3 separate regions of the Homo sapiens genome follow, and all the other regions are linked to region 1. Evidence: promoter capture Hi-C in 16 types of primary human blood cells and fetal thymus (Javierre and others, 2016). All regions are on one chromosome and are shown on one strand. Each heading gives the region's core, a stretch centred on a gene start or on the middle of the fragment in contact. The rest is flanking DNA. Distances are from core to core; before and after follow the strand shown. Region 1 holds the start of RNF14 (ring finger protein 14). Region 2 has its middle 7.3 kb from the start of FGF1. Region 3 has its middle 25 kb from the start of FGF1.

Region 1 (3,415 bases), core at 399-2,898:
AGGCCAAGATGTGGAACTCATACTACATATATTATGAAAATCCTGCCATCTGCAGAAAAGAAATACAAAAGATGGTGTTAGGACCCTCTCCAAATTAAAATTCTGAATTTCCATGATCACTGCTTAAGTCAAACATATCCTAACATATAGCCAATCCTAATCTACAAGTGCATGTTACTCTCCTAGGGCAGGCTAACTGAGCCATGTGGTTAAAGGAGTATTTGCATGTCCCCAGCAATGACTGAGGACTTTTTATCTGTCTGCCCTCAGCTATGGGAGGAGCTAAGGAGGAACACCAAGGTCATATGAAAGTACAGGACACCATGCCCCATAACAAACAATCTCTTCAGTTTGTTTTTTGTTTTGTTTTTTTCTCCTTTCCTCTTCTGCTTCTTGTATTCCTTCATTTGCCACTCCCCTCCAGTTTTTCCTCTCTTGTTCATGAATTAAGCCTGCCAGTGGCACTCAAGGTTAATTTTGGTAACAGAAAAATACTTAAACAAAACAAGAGTACACAAACACAAACTTTTAAGTTTTATTCTAAATGCTTTAGAGCTAGGCTTCTTCACTGGGGTGAGGGGAAAAGGGAGTGTGGTCTATAGATGGGCTACGGAGAATCCTATCAACACCCTAAAATTATATGCAAAAATACTATATACAAAACCATAATTAAAAACCAGATTCTCGGATGTGTAACTCCCAAATGAGATAAGAATGAGATTCAGAATCAATTTACATTAATTGAGCACCTACTATGTACTGTATTAGGTCCTTTCACATTGTCTTATTTTACTAGGTGGGAGTATATGGTGCTAATTGAATTAAGCTTTTTGTTTCTTCCTGTTAAAACATTTGCAAATGGGATGAGAGATTCATTCATGCAGTTTATGGTTTTAGGTTAGTGTTCTCCATCTGACTGCACATTAGAATCTTCTGAGGAGCTGTTTTTTAAAATCTCAATACCCAGGCCACACCCTAGAACAATTAATTCAGGCCTCAGTAGTTTTCCAAGTTCTCCAGGTGATTCCAATATGCAGCCAGGGCTAAGAACTTCTACTCCAAGCAGTTTCAACAGTTCCTCATGACCTACCCTACAAGATTTCAGCTTGTGAAGCTGTCACTTGGAATCCAGTACCTCAATTCAGGTTGCTAACCCCCATTTCCTTCTCACTCTATCCATTTGGTCTTCGGGTGTCCTAGTCTGGGTTCAGCTCGCCACTAGGCGTGCGGCGTCGTTTGGGCGACTGCCCCAAAACAGGGGCAGGCCCAACGCTAGCTATCCGCCCCAACGCTGGGATCAGAGGGCGCAATGCGGATGTGTGAGCTGCTGGCCAGCCTGGGGCGTCCCGAAGGAGCAGGGCCCACACCTTCCCCTTCCTCCTCAGCGTCCCGAAGGGAGTCCCGGCCAGCCGAGCTGCGGACGCCCGGTCCCGGATTTGAGGGACTGAGGCCCAGTGTACAGTCCCAGCCCGGTCCCCTTCTCTGCCTCGCGCGCCCAGAGAGCTATCCCCACCGTACCTTCCGGCCGCCCGGCAGTGCCGAACCCCAAAGTTCCGCCCTCCGCCCTTGCCTGGGGCCCACTCACCGCCGCCAGCCGACCAGGCCTAGAGACGCCCTGCTCAACCGGCGCGCCGCCTCTTCCGTTCTCGGGAGCTGTCAGCTGAGCCAGGCGGATCCCGCTGGCGCGACCGCCGGCATAGGGAGGACTCTGCGCAGCCGCCGTGGTCGCCCCTGCCTCTCGGGCGCCTCCCGCAGGCCCAAGGCGGCGCTGCCGGCGCGACCACCGTCACCCCCACTTACTGCGAGCCCTGTGCTCACAGGAGGCTCTTTTCAGTAGTTCTGATGGGGCCCGAGAATTCGAATTTTTACCAATCTCTAGAGGGGATCATGAGGCAGTGGTCTACCTAGGGCAGAGACTCTCACAACAATCCCAGACCTGCTTCTCCAAGTGGACTAAGCAAGCCTACTTCCTCCCGTTTACCTTCTCAGAAATGCTGCCGGTCTTTCTGGCACTCCACTGTGGAAGCACGCATTCATCGCTCATGTTATAACTGTAACACCGACCGCATTTATCGAGTAGTTAGGATGCTTCAAGCAGTGTGATAAATGCTCTACGTAAATTTTCTATCTTCACTGTAATCTTATGATTTAGCTACCATTTGTTATTCTCACTTTACAAATAAGGAAATTGAGACTTAGGTGCAAGAACTTACCAAGGGTCACATGATTATCGTCAGGCTAAGCAGGAATTAAAATTATACACTTCCTTCCTCACACCATATGCAAAAATTAACTAAATATGGATCAACGACCTAAATGTAAGAACTAAAACTATAAAACCCTTAGAAGGCCGGGTGCGGTGGCTCACGCCTGTAATCCTAGCACTTTGGGAAGCCGAGGCGGGTGGATCACGAGGTCAGGAGATCGAGACCAGCCTGACCAACATGGTGAAACCCCGTCTCTACTAAAAATACAAAAAATAAGCCGGGCATGGTGGCGGGCACCTGTAGTCCCAGCTACTAGGGAGGCTGAGGCAGGAGAATCATTTGAACCCAGGAGACAGAGGTTACAGTGAGTCACTGCACTCCAGCCTAGGTAACAGCGAGACTCCGTCTCAAAAAAAAAAAAAAAAAAGTCAAACACAAAAAGCCATATATTGTTTTTAATTTATATGAAATGTCCAGAATAGGCAAATCCATAGAGACAAAAAGTAGTTTAGTGGTTGCCAGAAACTAAGGCAGGAGGGAATGGGAAGTGACTGCTAATAGATACCGCTAATAGATATGGTGTTTCTTGGGTGATGAAAATATTGTGGAATTAGAGAGCAGTGATAGTTGTATAACTTTGTGAGTGTACTAGAAACCACTGGATTGTATACTTTTGAAGAGTTAATTTTATTGCATGTGAATTATGTCTTAATTAAAAAATTTTTTTAGGTACAAAGCACCGTTCTCAGCGCTTAAGTGGAATACAGAAATGTTGGCTCCTTCTCCTGGGACCCATCAAACTAATGTGCTCCTCACAATCTAATAAGCTCCTGTGTCCGCTTTTTCATATATTTCTTCCTCCAAAAGAGTAACTTGCAGAGCTAAGACTCTAACCCAAGCCTACAGGATTCTAAAGCTTTTACCACCATTGCCTCCCGGGCAGGATTAGATTCATGGGCCAGCAACCCGTGCAGTCACATAGGGCCCTGCACTTAGAAGGGCCCCAGATTTAGAAGTGGCCTGCTCTTAAGAATGATACAATGGACTTTGGGGACTTAGGGGGAAGGATGAGAGGGGGACGAAGGATAAAAGACTACAAATAGGGTGCAGTGTATACTACTCGAGTGATGAGTGCACCAAAATCTCACAAATCACCATTAAAGAACTTACTCATGTAATCAAATACCACCTGTACCCCAATAACTTAT
Region 2 (3,870 bases), core at 1,328-3,827, 720 kb before region 1:
CACCCCCACCTCGGCTTCCCAAAGTGCTGGGATTACAGGCATAAGCCACTGCGCCCAGCCTTGAGGTCTTTAATTCTGACTTTAGAAGTAATATAATAACTATAGCAAACACAGATGGTATGCTGGAGTCCCTACAGGCATCATCTCAGGTAATCCTCACAATGACCCTACGAGGCAAGTACTGCTATTATCCCATTTAGCAGATGGGTAAACCAAGTCTCAAAGAAATGAGTTACTTATCCTAAATTATACATCTAGTAAGTGGTGATGTGCAGACTATAACCCAGGATGCCACCTTCTCATTTCCTATTCCACTAATCATTTACACACCTATCAGTAGAATTTCCTGCTGCCTGAGTTTAAAGAGCAAAGGGCACAGGTGATGGGTCAGAGAGCAGGAAGAAGTACATGTATTTTAGACCCCTCTTCTGCCACCTGGGTGCCCAGTACCTCTACTGGGAAGTTCTTATTAGATTCTACCCAGGGGTGAGGGGTCACTCCCCTGCCCCAGAGCCTACAGGAATGTCAGGGATTTCACAAAAAGAGGTGTCTCTGGGACTCTGCAGAGAGTAGGGTGCTTTTTAATTAAACGGGGGTAGGGTGGTCTTTGCGGGAAATGTTGGCTAGAGGGTAGGCTTTAGAATTTAAGCTTGCCCCTTGGGCTGCCGGTCAGTACATTATGGCCCTGCCCTTTCTCCTACCCGCCACCAGGGTGACCAAGCTGGGGTCCTCCCTCAGGGTGTTTGGCAGGATTTGGAAGGCAACCAAATTCTGATCTCAAAGAACACCAAAATCTTGAGATGGTGATTTCTTGTACCATCTGTGCCCCCACATCAAGCCACTGGACTCGGCTGATGCAGTCATCTTTGTGCTGGCAAAACTTTTGGTTCAAGTGTATCTTGTTTCTTTGATGCACACTGGCCTATTCATATGGCTTCATATCTTGGAAAGAGCAGATCCTATTGATTTACGTCATTTTCTTTATCTTTACAATATCCTGTGGCAGTGTGAAAGAGCTGGTGTTCTCACCTTCCTTCCATTGATAGCACAACTGAGGCATAGTGAGAGTGAGTCGTGACCTTTGCACAGAAGGTCCCAGGCCAGGAATGTAAGAGATCTGAGGTCTTTAGAACCCAAATCTGCTTGGTTCTCCATGAGGTTATGATGGTGGGCAGGGTGGGGGGGAATACATATATACAGAGAGGCAGATAGACATAGATAGATAGATAGATAGATAGATAGATAGATAGATAGATAGATAGATTATAGATAGATAGAGATATAGATAAATTCTTCGGGTAAATCTTTAAGAGAAAAAAAAAACACTGCTAGACCCAAGAGAAATGAACACATGTTCACACAAAAACTTGCCCATGAATAACAACAGTATAATAATAGCCAAACAGAAGAAACACCCCAAATGTTCATCAGCTGATGAACAGAGAAATAAAATGTGGTGTATCCATGCAATGAAATATTATTCAGCAATAAAAAGGAAAGAAATGTTGATATGTTCTCCAATACAGAAGAACCTTGAGGACATCACACTAAAGGAAAAATGCTCATGTTGTTTGATTCCATTTATATGAAACGGCCAGAACAGGAAAATCTATAGAGACAGAAAGTAGATGAGTGGTTGCTTAGGCCTGGCAGGAGGGAGGAATGGGGAATGAACTGCTAATGGATATGGGGTTTCTTTGGGGGGTGACAAAAATATTCTAAAATTATAGTTGTGATGGCCGCACAACTTTGTAAATATACCAAAACCACTTAATTGTACATTTTAAATGGGTGAACTTCAGAGTATGTGAAGTATATCTCAATAAAGTCATTTAAAAACCCAAACCAGCCTGGCCAATATGGTGAAACCCTGTCTCTACTAAAAATACAAAAATTAGCCGGGTGTGGTGGCGCACGCCTGTAATCCCAGCTACTCGGGAGGCTGAGGCAGGAGAATAGCTTGAATCCTGGGAGGTGGAGGTTGCAGTGAGCCAAGATCACTCCACTGCACTCCAGCCTGGGCGACAGAGTGAGACTCTGTCTCAAAAAATAAAAAAATAAAAATAAATAATTTAAAAAACCCAAACCACTGCTATTGAAATAATTAACCCCGCGACAGGGCTTTGCCAAAGGATGTGATCTCACCCTGTAAGCTCTGAGAAGCTTGTCTTGTCCCATAGAGCCTGGCCATAGGTCACTCACACAATTCCACTGAGAAGAAGATAGATGGAAAAGATAGGATCAATTAATTTCTCCTTAGAGTCTAAACCAGGAGAGTTTTTTTCCTCTTTCCTGGACAGACATTTTAGATTTTTTAGAATCAGTCTCACTACTTTATTTTCACTTCTGGGTTTTAAATCATGCTTCCAAAAGTGTTTCCCATTCTAAGATTATAAATCTTATTAACTAATGTTTTCCTCTAAGGCTTGTCTCTTTACACTTAAACCTCGGATTCATCAGGAATTTAAATAAGAAACTGGGGATCCAGATTGGGTTTGTTTGTTTGTTTGTTTGTTTGTTTGTTTGTTTTTGCCAAATAGCTAGACAATTATTAAACCAGAAGTTCTTAATTTGGGGTTAAAGTGTGCCTGGGGCATCTTGTAACTTCCTGAAATTAAATGTAAAACTGTGTGTGTGTGTGTGTCTGTGCGTGTGTGTGTGTGTGTGCGTGTGTGCGTGTGTGTGTGTGTGTCCTGGGGAATAGAGCTATAGATCTTGTCAAGATTTTCAAGAGGTTTTGTGACTCAGGAAAACCAGTAGGCTTTCTATATTTCATAACCTGCTTGGGGTTATGTTGCATACACTCCAATATACCAAGACCCAATCTAAACCAACAGGATAGTTGTTAAATCATTACAGGGGAGGCCTGAGAGATCACTCTGTTCTCTGTCACATGTCAAGTGAGAGTTGCACCATCTTTTGGTTTGATGTTCTGCTGAGGCAAAGAATGAGAAGTCTCTCAATGGTTCCTCTTGGGTCTATAAAGCTTTAGTTTGTTGTTGCTGCTATTCTTTTTGAGACAGGGTCTTTCTCTGTCATCCAGGCTGGAGTGCAGTGGCGTGATCTCAGCTCACTGCAACCTGCGCCTTCTGGGCTCAAGCAATCCTCTCACCTCAGCCTCCCAAGTAGCTGTGACCACAGGCACATGCCACCACACCCAGCTAATTTTTGTGGGGTTTTTTTTGGTAGAGAAGGGGTTTCATCATGTTGCCCAGGCTGGTCTTGAACTCCTGGACTCAAGCAATCTGCCTGCTTCAGCCTCTCAAAGTGCTGGGATTACAGGCATGAGCTACTGCACCTGGCCTAAACTTTAGGTTTTTAATCATCAATTGACAAATCAATGGAGATAGTGCACAATTTTAGCTGACAAAACTTGGGGCCTTCCTGTCACAAAGACTTTGAGGAGGCAAGGTTCACAGCCTATAGTCCCATAAATATAAATAAATGATAAACTGAAAACAAAACTGCCATTACAAAGAAGGTGGCAGATCCTATGTGCAGGCTCATGCATTCATGTAATAAATGTATATGCAACACCCACTATATGCCAGGCATCGTCAAGACTGGTAGCTCTCAAAATGCAGTCCCTGGACCAGGAGCAGTAGCAGCAGTTAGAAACTTATTAGAAATATAAACTCTATTTCAGTAGGCCCACCCCAGATCTACTGAATTAGAAACTCTGAGGTTGGAGCCCAGCAATCTGTGTTTTAACAAATCCTCCAGGTGATTCCAGTGCACACTCGAGCTTGAGAACCACTGGTCTCGGTACTGAGTATATAACAGTGAGAAGACAAAGTCCTGCTCTCCTTGTGGAATTTGTATTCCAGTGTATGTGGTAGGGGAGACAGAACAAGTAAGTAAATATTTTAT
Region 3 (3,720 bases), core at 1,213-3,712, 740 kb before region 1:
GGGTGTGAGGACGGCAGGGCCGCGCCCCCTGCTGGCCGCTCGCTCAGCTGCGCTGTCGCCTCCTCTGCCATCAGCCCGTGGGAAAGAAAGCCATTTTGGTCACAGGAAGCAACGTTTTCAACTTCTCTCATTAATGAGAAAGACAGAATTGTGATACTCTAATGGGAATACTCGAGGAAGGAATAAATTAAATTTCCATGCAGCTCCGGCTCGAGTCCCAAGCTGAACAGATGCTGTTTTTATCAAATACTTTCTATTCTGTGACGTGCTCTGCCAACTTTCTATTATTAGACAAATCAGGAAAAGTCTGATTTCTCTCCCTTCTGGCTTCTCCTTCCCGCTTTTGTGGGAGGGTGGTGGTTTGGGTGGAGACTCTGTCCTGTCCATAGAAGGTAAATGACAAGGAAATGGCAGCCACCTGAAAACTTGCCTTGATGCCAGCATGTCCCAGAAATGTCCTTTAAAATGACATCTCATCCAGGCGTCACCCCATCCCAGATGGCATAGCTGATGGGACAGGAAAAAATACATATTTTAGAGTATTTACAGCATCATTTTCCCCTGCCCCCACTTCCTTCCTGTGAAGGAGGAATTAGTCTTCACTAGCCAAGTTCTGGAGTATTTCTTTTTCTTTTTTCTTTTTTTTTCTTTTAATTGAGATAGTGTCTTGTTGTGTTGCCTAGGCTGGAGTGCAGTGGCACCAACATCACTAACTACAGCCTTGAACTCTTGGGCTCAAGCGATCCTCCTGCCTCAGCCTTCCAAAGTTCTGGGATTACAGGCGTGAGCCATTGCACCTGGCCCTGGAGTATTTCTTGTGCATAATAAGGGAAAATTTGGGAAAGGATTCTGAATTGTGCAGTACCATGGGTAGGATGGGTTGATGGGTCTACCTAAGAGAAGGCAGGGAGTTACATACTAACGAAAGCAGAATGGATCAGAAGGCGAGAGAAAGAATAAGAGAAACAAGCCAGGGATGAGCTGGGTTTGGGAGAATTCAAGAGATAAATTAAGGAGGACTGAAGTAGCTGCTGGGCTGTTGATATGGTTTGGCTGTGTCCCCACCCAAATCTCATCTTGAATTGTAGTTCCTATAATCCCCACGTGTTGTGGGAGGGACCCAGTGGTAGGCAATTGAATCATGGGGGCGGTTACTCTTTTCTATGAGGGAGATGCACAAAGGGAAAAGAAAAGACACACATGCAATACCTTCAAGGGTAAACAACCTTTATCCCATGTAAATGGCAATGCAGATATAATAAGCAAATGATACAAGCAAATTGCAATGGGAAGGGGAAAAGGGAGAAGATATATATATATAGCCTGGACTACTGGGAGGCTAGAAGTTAATGGCAAGGGCATGCCAACTTTCACCCCACTTCTCCCATCAATATAGACTATATATATATACACACACACTCACCAGACGATGGAGGATTCATCACCAGACCAGAAGCAACAGCCTGGGCTCCAGAGTCGGCCACTACACTTACCAGACTATAGAGGATTCATCACCAGACAGGGAAGCAACAGCCTGGGCTCCAGAGTTGACCGCTCATCCATGCACAGATGAGGAGAGGTCTCATGAAGCTTTGGCGTGGTATGGGACCCTAGTTCTTTTTGTAACGACTTATTTGGCATGAGGCCCAGTCACGAGGGCCCTTCATGACTGGACTCAAGGAACACAAAAAGGTCAACTTGTTTTTATGATTGTTTGTTGTTTTTCAATAACTAACATACAGGAACAGATTTCTCCAAAACCGTCTGGATGAACGCCTCAAGGGGCTCATGCAACCTGTTCTGGGACTTGGTGACCATTGTTTGTGTCCACATTCAATTGAGTTCAAATTTAAGATTTAACTTTTCCTCCACATATCCCCATGCTCTTCTTGAGTTCTCATGAGACCTGATGGGTTTATGAAAGGCTTTTCCCCTTTGCTTGGCACTTCTCCTTCCTGCCGCTATGTGAAGAAGGATGTGGTTGCTTCCCCTTCCGCCTGAGGCCTTCCCACCCCTGTGGAACTGTGAGTCAATTAAAACCTCTTTCTTTTATAAATTACCCAGTCTCAGGCAGTCCTTCATAGCAGTGTGAGAACGGACTAACACAGATGTCATGAGGAGGACTTGAGAAAGAGACAAGAGAAGAGGATTCTTCAGAAATGTTGGTGTTATGAATGGAACCCAAACCCCACCCTTTGGCATCTTTAAGAGATTTCAGTAAAGACATAAATTGATTTAAAAACTGTGTTTTGGTCAAGCATAGCGGCTCACTTCTATAATCCTAGTACTTTCAGAGGCCAAGGTGGAAAGATTGCTTGAGGCCAGGAGTTTAAGACCAGCCTGGGCAACATAGCAAGACTCTGTCTCTCAAAAACAAATTAAAATTAGCCTTATGTGGTGGCATACACCTGTAGTCCCAGCTACTCAGGAGGCTGAGGTGAGAGGATCACTTGAGCACAGCAGTTCGTGGCCTCAGTGAACTATGATTGTGCCACTGCACTCCATCCTGAGTAATGCAGCAAGACACCCAACTCATAAATAAATAAATAAGATAAAAACTCTGTTTTGTATGATGGTCTGGTGTTTATTCAAGGCAGCCTGGACTACTGGGAGGCTAGAAGTTAATGGCAAGGGAATGCCAAGTTTCACCCCACTTCTCTCATCAATATAGACTATAGTCCAGATATTTTAAATTAGTATCCTATAGGGTAGCTGGGTGTGGACCCCAGATGCATTTTATTTGGCTAGTTGAGATTTAAGTTTTTTTTGAACCAACAATTGAAAATTGGGATTTCACATTTTAAAAGCCTGCATTTCCTTTCCTACTTCTTTTGAAAAAAATGGAAAAATTTGGCAATATGAGGCCCTTATTACCACAAGGCAAAAATAGGCTCATGCTTTCTAGTTAACCTCAGTGCCCACCCCTCACATAAGGCATATGTATGCATGTATACCTGGCCCACTGCCTGCATTTGCAGGTGGACCTTGGAGATATTGTGGGTTTGGTTCCAGACTGCCGCAGTAAGGCAAGTATTGCAACAAAGTGAATCATACAAATTTTTGGTTCCCAGTGCCTATAAAAGTTATGTTGACAGTATGCTGTAGTCTAGTAAGTGTGCAAGAGCATTATGTCTAAAAATGTACATACCTCAATTAAAAATACTTTGCTGCTAAAAAAATAGTAATGATCGTCTGAGCCTTCAGTGAGTTATAATCTTTTTCCTGGTGGAAGGTCTTGCCTCGATATTGATGGTTACTGACTGATCAGACTGGTGGTTGCTGAAGTTTGAGGTAGCTGTGGCAAGTTATTAAAATATGACAGTAATGAAGCTTGCCATGTCAATGGACTCTTCCTTTCACAAAATATTTCTCTGTACCATATTTGGTAGCATTTAATAACAGTAGAACTTCTTTCAAAAGTGGAGTCAGTCCTCTCAAATGCTGCTGCTTCTGTATTAACTAAGTTTACGGAATATTCTAAATCCTTTATTGTCATTTCAACAATGTTCACAGCATCTCTACTAGGAGTAGAGTCCATCTCAAGAAATCACTTTCTTTGCTCATCCATAAGAAGCAGCTCCTCTTTCGTTCAAGTTTTATCATGAAATTTGTATTAGGGTTCTCTAGAGAGGCAGAACTTATAGGATAGATGTATAAATGAACGGGAGTTTATTAAGGAGTACTGACTCACATGATCACAAGGCGAAGTGCCACAATAGG

What was found. The method cuts DNA at HindIII sites, captures the fragments that hold promoters and counts their contacts. A CHiCAGO score of 5 or more calls a contact.
Region 2: a contact is called between a fragment that was not itself captured here and the fragment with the promoter of RNF14 in region 1, in 1 of 17 cell types (total CD8 T cells). The highest score is 5.2, in total CD8 T cells.
Region 3: a fragment that was not itself captured here is called in contact with the fragment with the promoter of RNF14 in region 1 in 2 of 17 cell types (fetal thymus and total CD4 T cells); the score reaches 5.7 in fetal thymus.

Annotation. Positions count from the first base shown.
Region 1 is chr5:141,967,338-141,970,752 of GRCh38, reverse strand. It overlaps RNF14 (ring finger protein 14), which reads right to left and starts at 1,648. Exons shown (of 9, transcript NM_004290.5): 1 at 1,586-1,648; 2 at 1-49. LOC124901095 (a long non-coding RNA gene) reads left to right here and starts at 973. Exons shown (of 3, transcript XR_007058977.1): 1 at 973-1,145. RefSeq lists an enhancer at 1,466-1,615 and a silencer at 1,726-1,865. The HindIII fragment of the contact is 2,297 bases long and covers 829-3,125 here.
Region 2 is chr5:142,691,483-142,695,352 of GRCh38, reverse strand. It overlaps a transcript of FGF1 not described here. Among named protein-coding and RNA genes, the nearest start is that of FGF1, 7.3 kb to the right of the region's middle. The HindIII fragment of the contact is 823 bases long and covers 2,166-2,988 here.
Region 3 is chr5:142,709,588-142,713,307 of GRCh38, reverse strand. No RefSeq gene overlaps it. Among named protein-coding and RNA genes, the nearest start is that of FGF1, 25 kb to the right of the region's middle. RefSeq lists a silencer at 1-106. The HindIII fragment of the contact is 1,740 bases long and covers 1,593-3,332 here.